Regions from separate parts of the Homo sapiens genome. Here region 1 is linked to region 2. Evidence: promoter capture Hi-C in 16 types of primary human blood cells and fetal thymus (Javierre and others, 2016). All regions are on one chromosome and are shown on one strand. Each heading gives the region's core, a stretch centred on a gene start or on the middle of the fragment in contact. The rest is flanking DNA. Distances are from core to core; before and after follow the strand shown. Region 1 overlaps ATP10B (ATPase phospholipid transporting 10B (putative)). Region 2 holds the start of HMMR-AS1 (HMMR antisense RNA 1).

Region 1 (6,042 bases), core at 304-2,803, 2.7 Mb before region 2:
TGGGGTGGGGGGAGGGGGGAGGGATAGCATTAGGAGATATACCTAATTCTAAATGATGAGTTAATTGGTACAGCACACCAGCATGGCACATGTATACATATGTAACTAACCTGCACATTGTGCACATGTACCCTAAAACTTAAAGTATAATAATAAAAAAAAAAGCAATTCGTTGTTTTTGTCAGCCTTATCAAAAATTAGATGGTTGTAGGTTTATGGTTTTATTTCTGGTTTTTCTGTTCTGTTTGATGGAGCTACATGTCTGTGTTTGTGCCAGTACCATGCTGTTTTGGTTACTGCACGCTTATAGTATGGCTTGAAATTGGGTAGTTTGATTCCTCTGGCTTTATTCTTTTTGCTCAGGATTGCTATTTGCACTCTTTTTTTGGTTTCATATGCGTTTTAGAATAGTTTAGAATCGTTTTTTCCTAATTCTGTGAAGAGTGACATTGGTAGGTTGATAGGAATAGCATTGAATCTCTAAATTCCAATAGGGAAGTATGGCCATATTAATGATATCAGTTCTTCCAATCCATGAGTACGTAACATTTTTCATTTATGTCATCTCTGATTTCTTCCAGTAGTCTTTGTAGTTTTCCTTTTAGCAATCTTTCATCTCATTCGTTAGCTGGATTTCTGGGTATTTCACTTTTTTTGTGGTATTTTAAATGCAATCATATTCTTCGACTCTTAGCCTAGATGTTATTAATGTATAGAAACGCTACTGATTTTTGTATATTGATTTCATATCCTGCAACCTTGTTAAACTCATTTATCAGTTCTAGTTGCCTTCTGGGGGAGTCCTTAGGGTTTTCTAAGTATAGAATGATATTGTCAGCAAATAGAGATAATTTGACTTCTTCCTTTCCTATCCGGATGCCTTTTATTTCTTTCTCTTGCTGATTGCTCTGACTAGGACTTCCAGTACTCTGTTGATAGGAGTGGTGGGAGTGGGCATCCTTGTCTTGTTCCAATTCTAAAGGGGAATGTTTCCAGGTTTTGCCTGTTCAGTATGATGTTGGCTGTGGATTTTATAGATGGCTCTTGAGGTATGTTCCTTCTATGCCTACTCTGTTGAGGGCTTTTATCATGAAGGGATGTTGGATTTTATCAAAAGCTTTTCTGCATCTATCGAGGTTATGTGGTTTTTGCTTTTAATTCTGTTTATGTGGTGAATCATATTTATTGATTTATATATGTTGAATCAAATTGCATATTTTCTTTAATGTTCTATTTTTAAAAATATTCCCAAATGCACTCGAGCAATTCACTTCTTAACTTTTTTAATTGCTGTGTGTTTGTATAGGCATTGTGACAGTTGACTTTATGCCTTGGAAGTGAAATGTTCAATACATGTGTGCTGAATAAATACATGTTTTCTGTATATGGCAAATTGTAATAGTGACACCAGATCAAATAGGTTTAAGATTTTTTTGAGCCTTAAAAACCAATGCTTTGCTTTTTCAAGTGTGCTCCCAGCTGTAGATTGATTTGAGCCTTACTTTTTACTTGTATTTATAGGCTATCCATAGAGAAAACACTGTTGATTTCATGTAATCTATGTTCATTAGAAATTGAGCCAAATTTTTATGTATGAAACTCTGGATTTTTTTTTTAAGTTGAGATTTTGATAGTTCCATTATCTGTAGAGTAGATTTTTATTGCATATTTGACAACTACGTCACTGGAAGCTCTAGAGTAGAAATGAAGACAGCAAATATAATGGAATCTAGAAGGATCACTGACAAGTGAAAATTTTACCTGAGCTTGTGCTGGCCTTCAACCTCGGACTCTTATTTTAGTTAATCTGACATCTCCAAACAATACCTTTGGTTAATTTTATTCTCATTCTCTCTATCCCTGTTTCTGTATGCCTCTTCTCAATCTCTCTCTCTCTCTCTCATACATACACAAACACACACACACACACACACACACACACAGAGTGGACAGAATAGTGTAGTGGTTAAAGACAGACTTTGAAATTGGGCAAGCTTATATTAACTCTCATCTTTGTCACTTATTTTTATATTTGCTCTGTCACTTTCAACACGCTTTTTTTTTTTCTTTTAGATTCACTCAGCCCAAAGTTCTTTATTCATTCAATGGAGAAAATAATAGTATTTCTTAGTTTGTTGTTGAGCCTAGTAAATGTGGTGACTCAGGTAAACTTCTTAGCACAGTGGCTGGCATATAGTAAGTTCTTAATTAATGGTGACTCTACCTAGCATAGAATTTTCCTTGTTTAACTGCACAGATCACTTCTGATACCTTATGATGAATAAGATTACTGAACTTTCCTAGTTTCCTCTTCTGGCAGAACACATTACCCCTACTTAAGCTTTAAATAAGCAGGAGACTTTCCTAAGTTAGGATTTCAGGAGATTGCCAAGTACATAATACTTCATTTGTGGGAAAATACAGATGAAAATCTTGAAACAAGAGAAGAATTTTGGGAAGGTCAAGTAGGTTCAATAGTGTTCAGGCACTAAAAGCTGTAATTACTAATTATGAGGTAACACCTCAGGCTTCCTTTTAAAGTCTGCTTATTTCTAGTTTGTAAACAATTCTAACAAGCATGAATCTACCCCATCTCTAAGCAAAAAGCCCTTCTGGAATAGCAGATAAGAAGAAAAGACAATTCATTGTGAAAAGTGCTGAATACCTCCTTACCAGGGAAGAGATTGAAGAAACAAACATATAAATTTATTTTAAAAAGAACAAAATTGTTTACAGTTCTATAGGATGTCAAGAGGTAATAGGCAATAAAGAGTTCCTTGATCAAGATGTGTGGAAAACACTGGTTTGAATAAAGTTAAATTTCTCACTTTTCTTTATGGCTTCCCAGAGTCTCTATCTCTAAAAACGAAAGTAGGTGAGTAAAGTATACTGGAATTTCCAATCTAACTTGAACACAGAATCCTTTTATAGAACAATAATGGGAGCTGTGTTCCACAAAAGCCAGTTTGCTTCTCTGGTCTTAGGCCTTTGTTCAAGGGGTCAAATAGCCCAGCATTTGTCAACAAGTAATCAGAACATCCAAGCAGTATAGCAATAATAATCATAATAATGCCACAGAGCAGTATGAGATCACATTGTGTTTATTATCACCTTTTAAAATAAGCCAACACCTTCAAACTGGCAATTTTACCTTCAGGAAATCAGCCTTAGAAATACTCATAAAACTCTGGCTACCTTTGTAAGATTGTTCATGACTACAGTATTTGTAGTATTATGTATTTAATAACTAAATGTCCATCAGTAAGAAATTGCCTGGATAAGTGATGGCTCAACCAATATAACAAAATACTATATAAATACTCAAAAGAATAAGGTAGTTTTATATGTACTAATAGGGAAAAATGCCCTCAACACATTGTTGATAAAAAGTGTTAAGTTGTAGAGAGAGTATATAGCAAGGTATTTATTTTAAAATTTACACACATATGCCCACACTGAAACAAATGAATGAATAAGGGTGTGTGAATGTGTACACACTTGGATGTATCTGGAGAACAAGGAGACAGGCTTTCAATTTTTACTGTATAACCTGTGCTTCTAGAATGTAGACTGCTCTTAAGATACATTTGCTCCCACTTGTCAAAGAGATAAAGCTAAATAAGCCACACGATTATACTCTAAAAAAACCCTCATCTTCCTGACGACACAAAAATACCTAAATATGATAAACAGAGAGAGAGAAGCTACTCCTAGAGAACACTGCCACAGCTGTATCATCCCGGAGGGCACGGCACAAGAAGAACAAAACCTGCCATAGGTGGGGGTAAGGAGAAACAAGCCCAATTTTTATCAATCTTTTATGGTCAGGCATGGGCTGGCATGACACATTAGAATCCTGGGCAAATCTAGCCCAAAGTAAGTCTGCAGTCACTCGTCACTCTCCAACCCTTTTCATGGCATGTGTGCCAAGTGCGTAGTGTTAATGTGCCAAACTCTGGAGTAGGGCAGGGAATCAGAGAGAGATTTTCTCTGAGGAGCCTGGGAACTTTACTAAATATAAAGCATCAGTCTACTGAAGGCTGGTGGCAGGCTAGTATGATGGAGAGATTTAACAAGGCATAGAAAACTGTTTACAGAACTAGAGAGCAGAGAGAAAATATACTACCTCAAAAGTTTATGGTTGTGCTATAAGAGGAGAGAGCAAGAGAAATCTCATACAACTTGGACAGCTGAAAGCTGGGTTGTAGAATACAGGGGAATCTTGAAACTATCACTAATAATTAGGTTCTAAGACCCAATGAAGGTAAAGCCCTAATGCTGCCTTCAAATTGTTTGATGGTAGTGGTGAAGTGAATTTAAATAAAGCTGCAGCAAATCTCAGATTCAGCTCAGTTATAGATTAGATGATTAGATTGACTCAACTCTCCACCTCAGCTGTCTGAATAGAAAGGGATATGCTCTTTTCAAGGAGTTAATATTTATTTCATCCTGTTTGATTTTCCCACACAATGTCCAGCATACAACCAAAAATTATGAGACAGGCAAAGGAGCAGGAAAAGTTGGTTCATAATCAAGTGAAAAAATAGTCAATTGTAGAAGTACAGACGTTAGAATTAGAAGACAAATATTATAAAATAACTATGATTACAATATGTGAAAGGATCTAGTGGAGGAACTGGACAATTTATAAACAGATGGAGAAATTTAGCTGAGAAATGAAACCTTATAAGACAGAACCCTATTTTTACTTTGTGTGATGTTTTTAAATCAATTACATTTGGCAGTGAGAAGACGCGTTTTAAATCTTAAAAATGACTTTAAAAGCATATTTCCAAATGTTTTCATGCAAAATAGTTAAATTATAAATTAAATACTTTAGAGGGAAACCTCAACTTTATGGGAAAACTTTGTTATGAATATAATATATGCCCTGTGGTTTCCTGGCAATTTTTCTACCATACTTGTGGGCAGTCATACAACATGAATCATCTAATAGACTCCTGGTTGTTAAAATCATAACCAAAAGGCTGTGCATGGTGGCTCATGCCTATAATTCCAGTTCTTTGGGAGGCTGAGGTGGGTGGATCACTTGAGGCCAGGAGTTTGAGAACAGCTTGGCCAACAGACAAAATCCCATCTCTACTAAAAATACAAAAAATTAGCCAGGTGTGGTGGTATAAGCCTGTAATCCTAGCTACTTGGGAGGCTGAGGCATGAGAATCGCTTGAACCTGGGAGGTGGAGGTTGCAATAAGCCGAGATCATGCCACTGCACTCCAGCCTGGGAGACATAGCAAGACCCTGTCCCCAAAATAAAATAATAAAATAAAATAAAATGGTGATCAAACCAACAGTGCTTCTAATAGGGCATAACATCTGATTCTTATGCTCCTAGGGTAATGAGCATGCTGTCTAGGGTGATGAAGTTCAGTCTTGGGCTGCATGAGGCAGATATAAATAGAGGTTGATTTTACATATATCATTAATGGATCTGTACAAAAGGATGTGCCTTTTTCAGGGCAACATTCTTTATGAAATGCTATTGATGGAGATAAATATGGATAAAACTGAAACGTACAGATGGGCCAATAGGGAGAACCATGCTTAAAATTTAAGGAAATAAAACCTTAATTACGGGCTCAAGTGACAATACTTCTTTTGGTTCACAATGTGCTTTCAGACACTCACATACAAATTCTCATCAGGCTGAGAAATTTTTGGTTACACTCCTTGTGGTATACGTTTCTTCCCCACAGATTTCTAGCCAAAGTATGGACTAATTAACATGACAGGCTTTTTCCTTGAGGACTGAGGATCTGTAAGACCTTGGTATCTTCAATTCTCCTTAAGGTGCTGTCCAGAATGAACTTAGTCTGTATGCATCTATAGCACCCCTTGACCAGATGTTTATGCCTGCAACATTTGCCATCTATACCACCTTAGTCTTATGAGAACTTATTTTGTGTGTTCCATTGAAACTGAGAATTCAGGTTTTTCTGGAAAAGTAGTGACAGCTGAGATATAGATTACTGATGAGGCTGAAGTTCCTCTGAACACATGCTCAGTGGGAGAATGTTCAAAA
Region 2 (6,331 bases), core at 1,211-3,710:
TTGGTCCTACCTATTATCCTTCTACTTGTCCAGTTCAAATAAGAAATAAGGACAAGCCTAACTTCATAGAAACCTCTCTATTTTTAATCAGTTGTTTAATAATTTACAGGTTCTTAGGCTCCATCCTGTTTGTATGAAATTATAATCTGTGGATTGGCCTTTAAGCCTGCATTCTTAACAAACTCTTCAGTTAATTCTTAGATACACTAAAAATCTGAGAAACTCTACATGTAACTATTTCTTCAGAGTTTGTCATATACTGCTTGTCATCTGCATGTCTACTCAGCATTTGATTAACATTTGTGTAATATGAAATAAAATTACACAGTAAGTCATTTAACCAATTAATTTTTCAGCTTGTATTTTATGAAGTTACATTCATGCTTCTATGTAAGATGTATTTATCATCTCTACCCTACCCACACCACCTTGTCCCCAGAATCACAAAAGATACTGTTTGGAAAGTGGTAAATCTCTCTCTAAAATGCCTGTTTTGCACATATCATTGGTATGATATTTATAAGCTACCTTTTTTATAATGTGTTCTCACTGATGGCTCAACAGGGACTATCAGTCAGAATTGCTTTTCATTATTATTTTATTAGATCTTAATACATGGTTGAATTTTAAAATACAGTTTTTTAAATTAAGTTCAGAAGAAACGTAGAAATTAGAAAAATTGTCTAATAAAATAAAATGGTTTAATGGGCTGGGCCCAGTGGCTCACGCCTATAATCCCAACACTTTGGGAGGCTGAGGCAGGTGGAATTCAAGACCAGCCTGAGCAACATAGTGATACCTCATCTCTAAAAAATATATAAATAAATAATAAAATGCTTCAGGACCTCTACTTTTAGCCAACATGGGGTAACAAGATGAACAACCAGGTGCACTGCCCAAAGTTCTGCCCACTGGGAGGATTTCTCTTTACCACTATCCTTCAGGGATGTCCCAGAGAAGGGCTGGTGTACTATGGCTATCCACTTTCAGGTGATGCCTACATATCACACAGAACCATCTATAAACTAGGCCCATGTTGTTTCTTCCTGTCAACTCATCATAGGGAACTCTCCATGAGCTTGGGAGAAAAAAGGCAAGGTAGCAGGAACAGGGACCATGGGCATTTGGGTCACTTCTTCATGTAACTTGCTTTTGCCTTCAGGTCCTGCCTGGGCCCAGTCACATACATAACACGTTCTTTGATGATGTACTCCTGCTGTCCACACCCAGCATTATGGCTTGTGGGTCAGATAACACCCAGCTCATGATGGGCAGCTCAGGTCGCATGGTAACTTAATTGACCACGGTAAGCATTCAGTCCCTACTGAAGCCCAGCAGTAGGCCCAGAGCTGTTTCTCAAAAGAGTAGTTATCTGCATAGGATAACAGGTCTTTCTTCAAAATACTAAGGGTCTGCACTGAGATTCATCTATGTGGGCCTGCCAAAGGTTCCAACAGCATCTCTATCTGCCACTGACACTTCAAATACCACTGGATCTGCAAGTTCATATGTCCCAAGCAACAAAGCCGCTTACACAATAGCCTGGACCTATTGCAGAACCTTTCCTATTCTGAGTCCTACTCCAAACTAGCAGCTTTTCAAGTCACTCAGTAAATGGGCCAGAGTAACAAACTCAAATGAGGAAACGTCTTCAAAATCCAAAGAGGCCTGCCGCATGTCATGCCTCTTCTGGTTGTAGGAGGGGGCAGATGCAAAAACTTACCTTAGAAGGGGTATCTCAACATGCCTCATACCACTGGACCCCTAGAAATTTTACTGAGACATGAAAAAGCCTTTGAATTTTTGTTGGATTTACTTCCCACTTCTGACATGCAAATGTCTTACCAATAGGTCTGGAGTAGTTGCTATGTCTCACTCATTAGGTCCAGTGAGCATAATGTCGTCAATGTAATGGACCAATGTGATGTGGAAAGAAAAGGCAATCAAGATTCCTGTGAACAAAATTAGGACAGGGCTGGTGAGTTGATATGCCCTGAGGTAGGACATGAAGGTGCATTTCTAGCCTTGCTAGCTAAAAGCAAACTGCTTCTGGTCGGCCTTATAGACAGGGATGGAGAGAAAGGCATTTGCCAGATCATACCAGGTAGCTGCATACCAGGAACCAGGAGTTGTGTTAATTTGCTCAAGCAATACATCTGGTACTGTAGCTGCAATTGGAGTCACCACCTAGTTAAGTTTGTGATAATCCATCTGTCTTCTGCCCAGGCTAAATAGGCGAGTTGAATGGACATATGGTAGGAATCACCACCCCGCCTTCCTTCAAGTACTTATGGTGGCACTAATCTCTTCAGTCCCTATAGGAATTGAGCATTGCTTTTGGTTTACTATTTTCCTAAGTACAGATAGTTCTAGTGGCTTCTACTTGGCCTTTTCCACCATAATAGCCCTCACTCCATAGGTAAGGAAACCAATGTGTGGATTATTCTGTCAGCTGCTGACTGTATTCTAATTATACATTCTAGAACTAGGGGATAACCACAGGATAGGTTCAGGAATTCACTGGGCCCATTGTGAGATGGAACTAAGCTAAAACTCTGCTGATCACCTGACCTCCATAAGCTGCTACCCTGACAGTAGCACTTTGGATCTCCTGAAATTAGTGTCACTTCAGAGAGCCAGTGTCCACTAGTTCACAAAAGATCTGATTATTCCCTTTTTCTAATGCACAGTTACGTTGGTAAAGGTTGTACATCCCTTTGCGGAGGACTAGGAGAAAGACTAACAGTATAAACATTTGGTTATGGACCAGGGTCCCTTTGAGGTCCTCCCCTTCAATCAAAGGGTTTTGGGCTCTATAAAGTGGCTCAAGTTTGGGAATTAAGGGACCACGATTCTGTTTTTATGATTCGAGTTCAACTTTCGTCACTTGACTTAGAAGTTTTCTGCTTATACAGATCAAGTTAAGACTTCAGTAGGCTTCCTATCTATTTCACGTCTAGGAAAACCATGATCAACTAGCCAAAGCATAGGTCTACAAGTGAGATTATTCTAATTGTTCCTTTGGCTCTGTCATTATGATAACCACTTCACCTTGCCTTTGGTGGTTGAGTCCCATTACTTGACCCTTGCCACCCTGGGATCCTTTACTTCCATTATATTTAGGTTTTCCAGTTCAGTGACTGCAGTGAGCTCTGGCCTACAGAGAAGAGCCATCACAGAGTTCTGAAAAAGATGCTGGAGCTCTCCTCGCAAATTTCTTTCTCATAGTATTGGTGAAAGGTATGCTTTCTTGACCTTCCCAGTGTGGATGAGTAGTTCTTTTTTTTTTTTTTTTTTTGAGACGGAGTCTCGCTCTGTCGCCCAGGCCGGACTGCGGACTGCAGTGGCGCAATCTCTGCTCACTGCAAGCTCCGCTTCCCGGGTTCACGCCATTCTCCTGCCTCAGCCTCCCGAGTAGCTGGGACTACAGGCGCCCGCCACCGCGCCCGGCTAATTTTTTGTATTTTTAGTAGAGACGGGGTTTCACCTTGTTAGCCAGGATGGTCTCGATCTCCTGACCTCATGATCCACCCGAGATGAGTAGTTCTTAAGTGAAAAATCTAATTTCCCAATATTCCTAAACCTTTTAATCCCATCCTCTAGATTAAACCAAGGCATGTCCAGCACTTCCAATTCATCTTTTCCATGTTTTAGTAAGCCAATCAAACTGTGAGCACCCTTTCTAACTCCCCAAGCTGCAATGTTAAATGCAGAATCTTGGCTTAGTGAGCCCATGTCAATAAATTTGACCTGATCCAACTTTATGTTCCTTCCATCATTTTCCAACACCTTTATTATCCATTCCGACATATGTTCCCAGATTTTTGTCTGTATAAATTAGAGACTTTGAGTAACTCTTTGGAGTATAGCACATCTCTTCATAGGTAACACTTTGTTCCTGTCTAGTTTCAGGTCTAGAAGCAAAGAAGGGTGGTGGAGTTGGGTCTGGAGGAGAACCAACATTGTCTTGCATATCAACTGCCTCAAAGGAGGCCATTACAATTTCCTCAGGCAATGCAGTGTTAATCATCACAGACAGGTTGGAGGGTACTATCACTGGAAATGGAGAAGCTGCTTCCAATGGGGTTGAGAAGCCTCTCCACTAGCAAAGAAGACTCATCAGAATTTAGGGGCTTAATGTCCCCAGCTTCATCAAGGTCTTCCCATATGTCCCAATCCTAATTTACAGAATCCCATTTTTTTTTCAGTAAGTGCCCTCCTTTTGACAATAGTCACTCTGCAAGGCTGGAATTCTAATTTGTGTTGTAATTCAGCCAGTCACAGGATGAGATGCTGTGTTTGATTTTCAACAGTCTCAGCTCTGGGGCTACAGGAGATAGGGTTTTCTTCAGGGTGCACATAGAAGCTTTCAGATTATTTATGGAGCACTTGAGCTGGGAATAAAAATCCCTACACTCACTTTTGCACCACTTTATCCAGTGACATTAGAAACAACCAACTGTCCTCATTATACTCATTATGAGGCAGAATAGGTAGTCAAGGAAGTAAACATGCCCTTGGTATGCAGCAACTGTGGCTTACTGCACCACATACTTTAACAAAATAAGCCCCAGCATTCACATTGTAGTCAAGCTAATTCAAGCAAAGCTATCTTCAGTAGGAAATTTCCCTGTATATAGCATATACATTTTGATTTTACCTATCCTCAGCCTGACCCTTTGTTCATTATAATAGTAAAAAACCCACTGCTGGGTGGAGATTTAAGATGCTAATGAGACATGCGATATATGAACAAGCATGTACAGCTACTGCTCTTGTGCACCCAGAGGACCACCCAGAACATGCTTACTAGTAACACCTCTTCCCACCCCCTTATGATTAATCATGTAAGACTCCCAGAAAGGGAGTCTCCCTAGTGCCAGTCTTTATGATCTCATCCTTACCAGCAGCCTGTACTGAATCCTCTCTCTAAGGATGTACTATCTATTGTGCACTTAACTTTCAAAATATTCTTTTTCCTTTGCAATGAATTGTTTAATGCTGCAACTTCTCCACTCTGTGTCTCTTAAGTTCTTTTAGACTAAGAAGACAAGAACAAAGGTTTCATAACAGCCATCAACAATTAGTTTTCCAAAAATCAAAAAAAAATATCATATACACAGTTAGCCAGCTCCTTGCCTCTTATAACTGGCTGATTAGAAGTGGCCAATGCAATTATTTTGTGTATTTCTATTGCCAGATCATGCTATGCACTCAGTGCTCACTTTACTAACTGGAAAGAATCATTAACACGTTTAATAAGATCAGAGTACCAATCCCAAGAACCCTGGAACCATCAGGAAACTCATCCTTAACATTCTGTCCCTCTAGAACAACTCTTGGTACCAAAATCTGTATTAGTCACAGTTCTCCAGAGAAACAGAACCAGTAAGAGATACATAGAAAAGTTGATTTACTATGAGGAATTGGCTGACATGATTATGAAGGCTGAGAAGGCTTGCAACCTGCCATTTGCAGGCTGGAGACCCAGGAAAGCAGGTGTTGTTCAGTACAAGCTTGAAAGCCTGAGAACCATCATAGCAGAAGGTATAAGTCTCAGTCCAAAGTCAGCAAAAGACTGGGGTCAGGAAGAAGGGATTAATTCTCCCTTCCTTTGTTTTTTGTTCTACTCAGCCTTCAATGGACCCTCAATCAGCTTTAGTGCATCCACTAATTCAAATATTAACCTCATTCAGAAATACCCTCACAGACAGCCCCTGAAGTAGTGCCCACGGTCAACCTATGATCTAGTCAAGTTGATGTATAAAATTAAACATAACAATTAAACATCACACTGGGTTTGGGAACTGAACACCCTGTCTAGTCTAACTCATGCCCTATTGATCTACAATAAATTTTAACCTTGAATACTTGTTCGTGTTTCACACTGTTGACAAGAGAGGACAGAGGTCAGGATGCCCTGCCTCCTTCCTCAGTATCATTCTTTCAGATCCTCTTCTTGCTACTGTTCATGACTTCTATGTGAACACCCCCTAAAACAGGGTGAGAAGGATGACAGAGGTGGTGAAAATACGAAACTAGGCCCCAGAACCTATTTGTGGGTGAAGCTGGACCCCAAGACATCTATCCTTATGAAGGTTTTACTTGAGACTCCAACACTAGCTTATTCATTAGTCCTTTAAATTAGGAGTCATCTAAGCTCCCATCACAAAGCAAATTTCAACAAATAGATTTTCCAGAAACTGTTACAACAAAGAGGGTGGGGTCAATACCTTGTCTCTTCATCTCTAGCCACAGTAACATTCATCCATTTTCCAACCTATTGTCTCTTCATCCATTAGGACTTTGTAGTTTTCAAGAAAAACGGTGA

Evidence for each region. Contacts are between HindIII fragments. The CHiCAGO score rates a contact against its expected background, and 5 or more counts as called.
Region 1: a contact is called between a fragment that was not itself captured here and the fragment with the promoter of HMMR-AS1 in region 2, in 1 of 17 cell types (M0 macrophages). The highest score is 9.6, in M0 macrophages.

The regions. Positions count from the first base shown.
Region 1 is chr5:160,829,057-160,835,098 of GRCh38, forward strand. All of the region lies in intron 1 of ATP10B (ATPase phospholipid transporting 10B (putative)), which reads right to left. Among named protein-coding and RNA genes, the nearest start is that of ATP10B, 20 kb to the right of the region's middle. The HindIII fragment of the contact is 877 bases long and covers 1,116-1,992 here.
Region 2 is chr5:163,491,598-163,497,928 of GRCh38, forward strand. HMMR-AS1 (HMMR antisense RNA 1) reads right to left here and starts at 2,461. Exons shown (of 4, transcript NR_109892.1): 1 at 2,102-2,461; 2 at 1,846-1,952. It overlaps HMMR (hyaluronan mediated motility receptor), which reads left to right. Exons shown (of 18, transcript NM_001142556.2): 18 at 1-344. The HindIII fragment of the contact is 5,178 bases long and covers 1-4,364 here.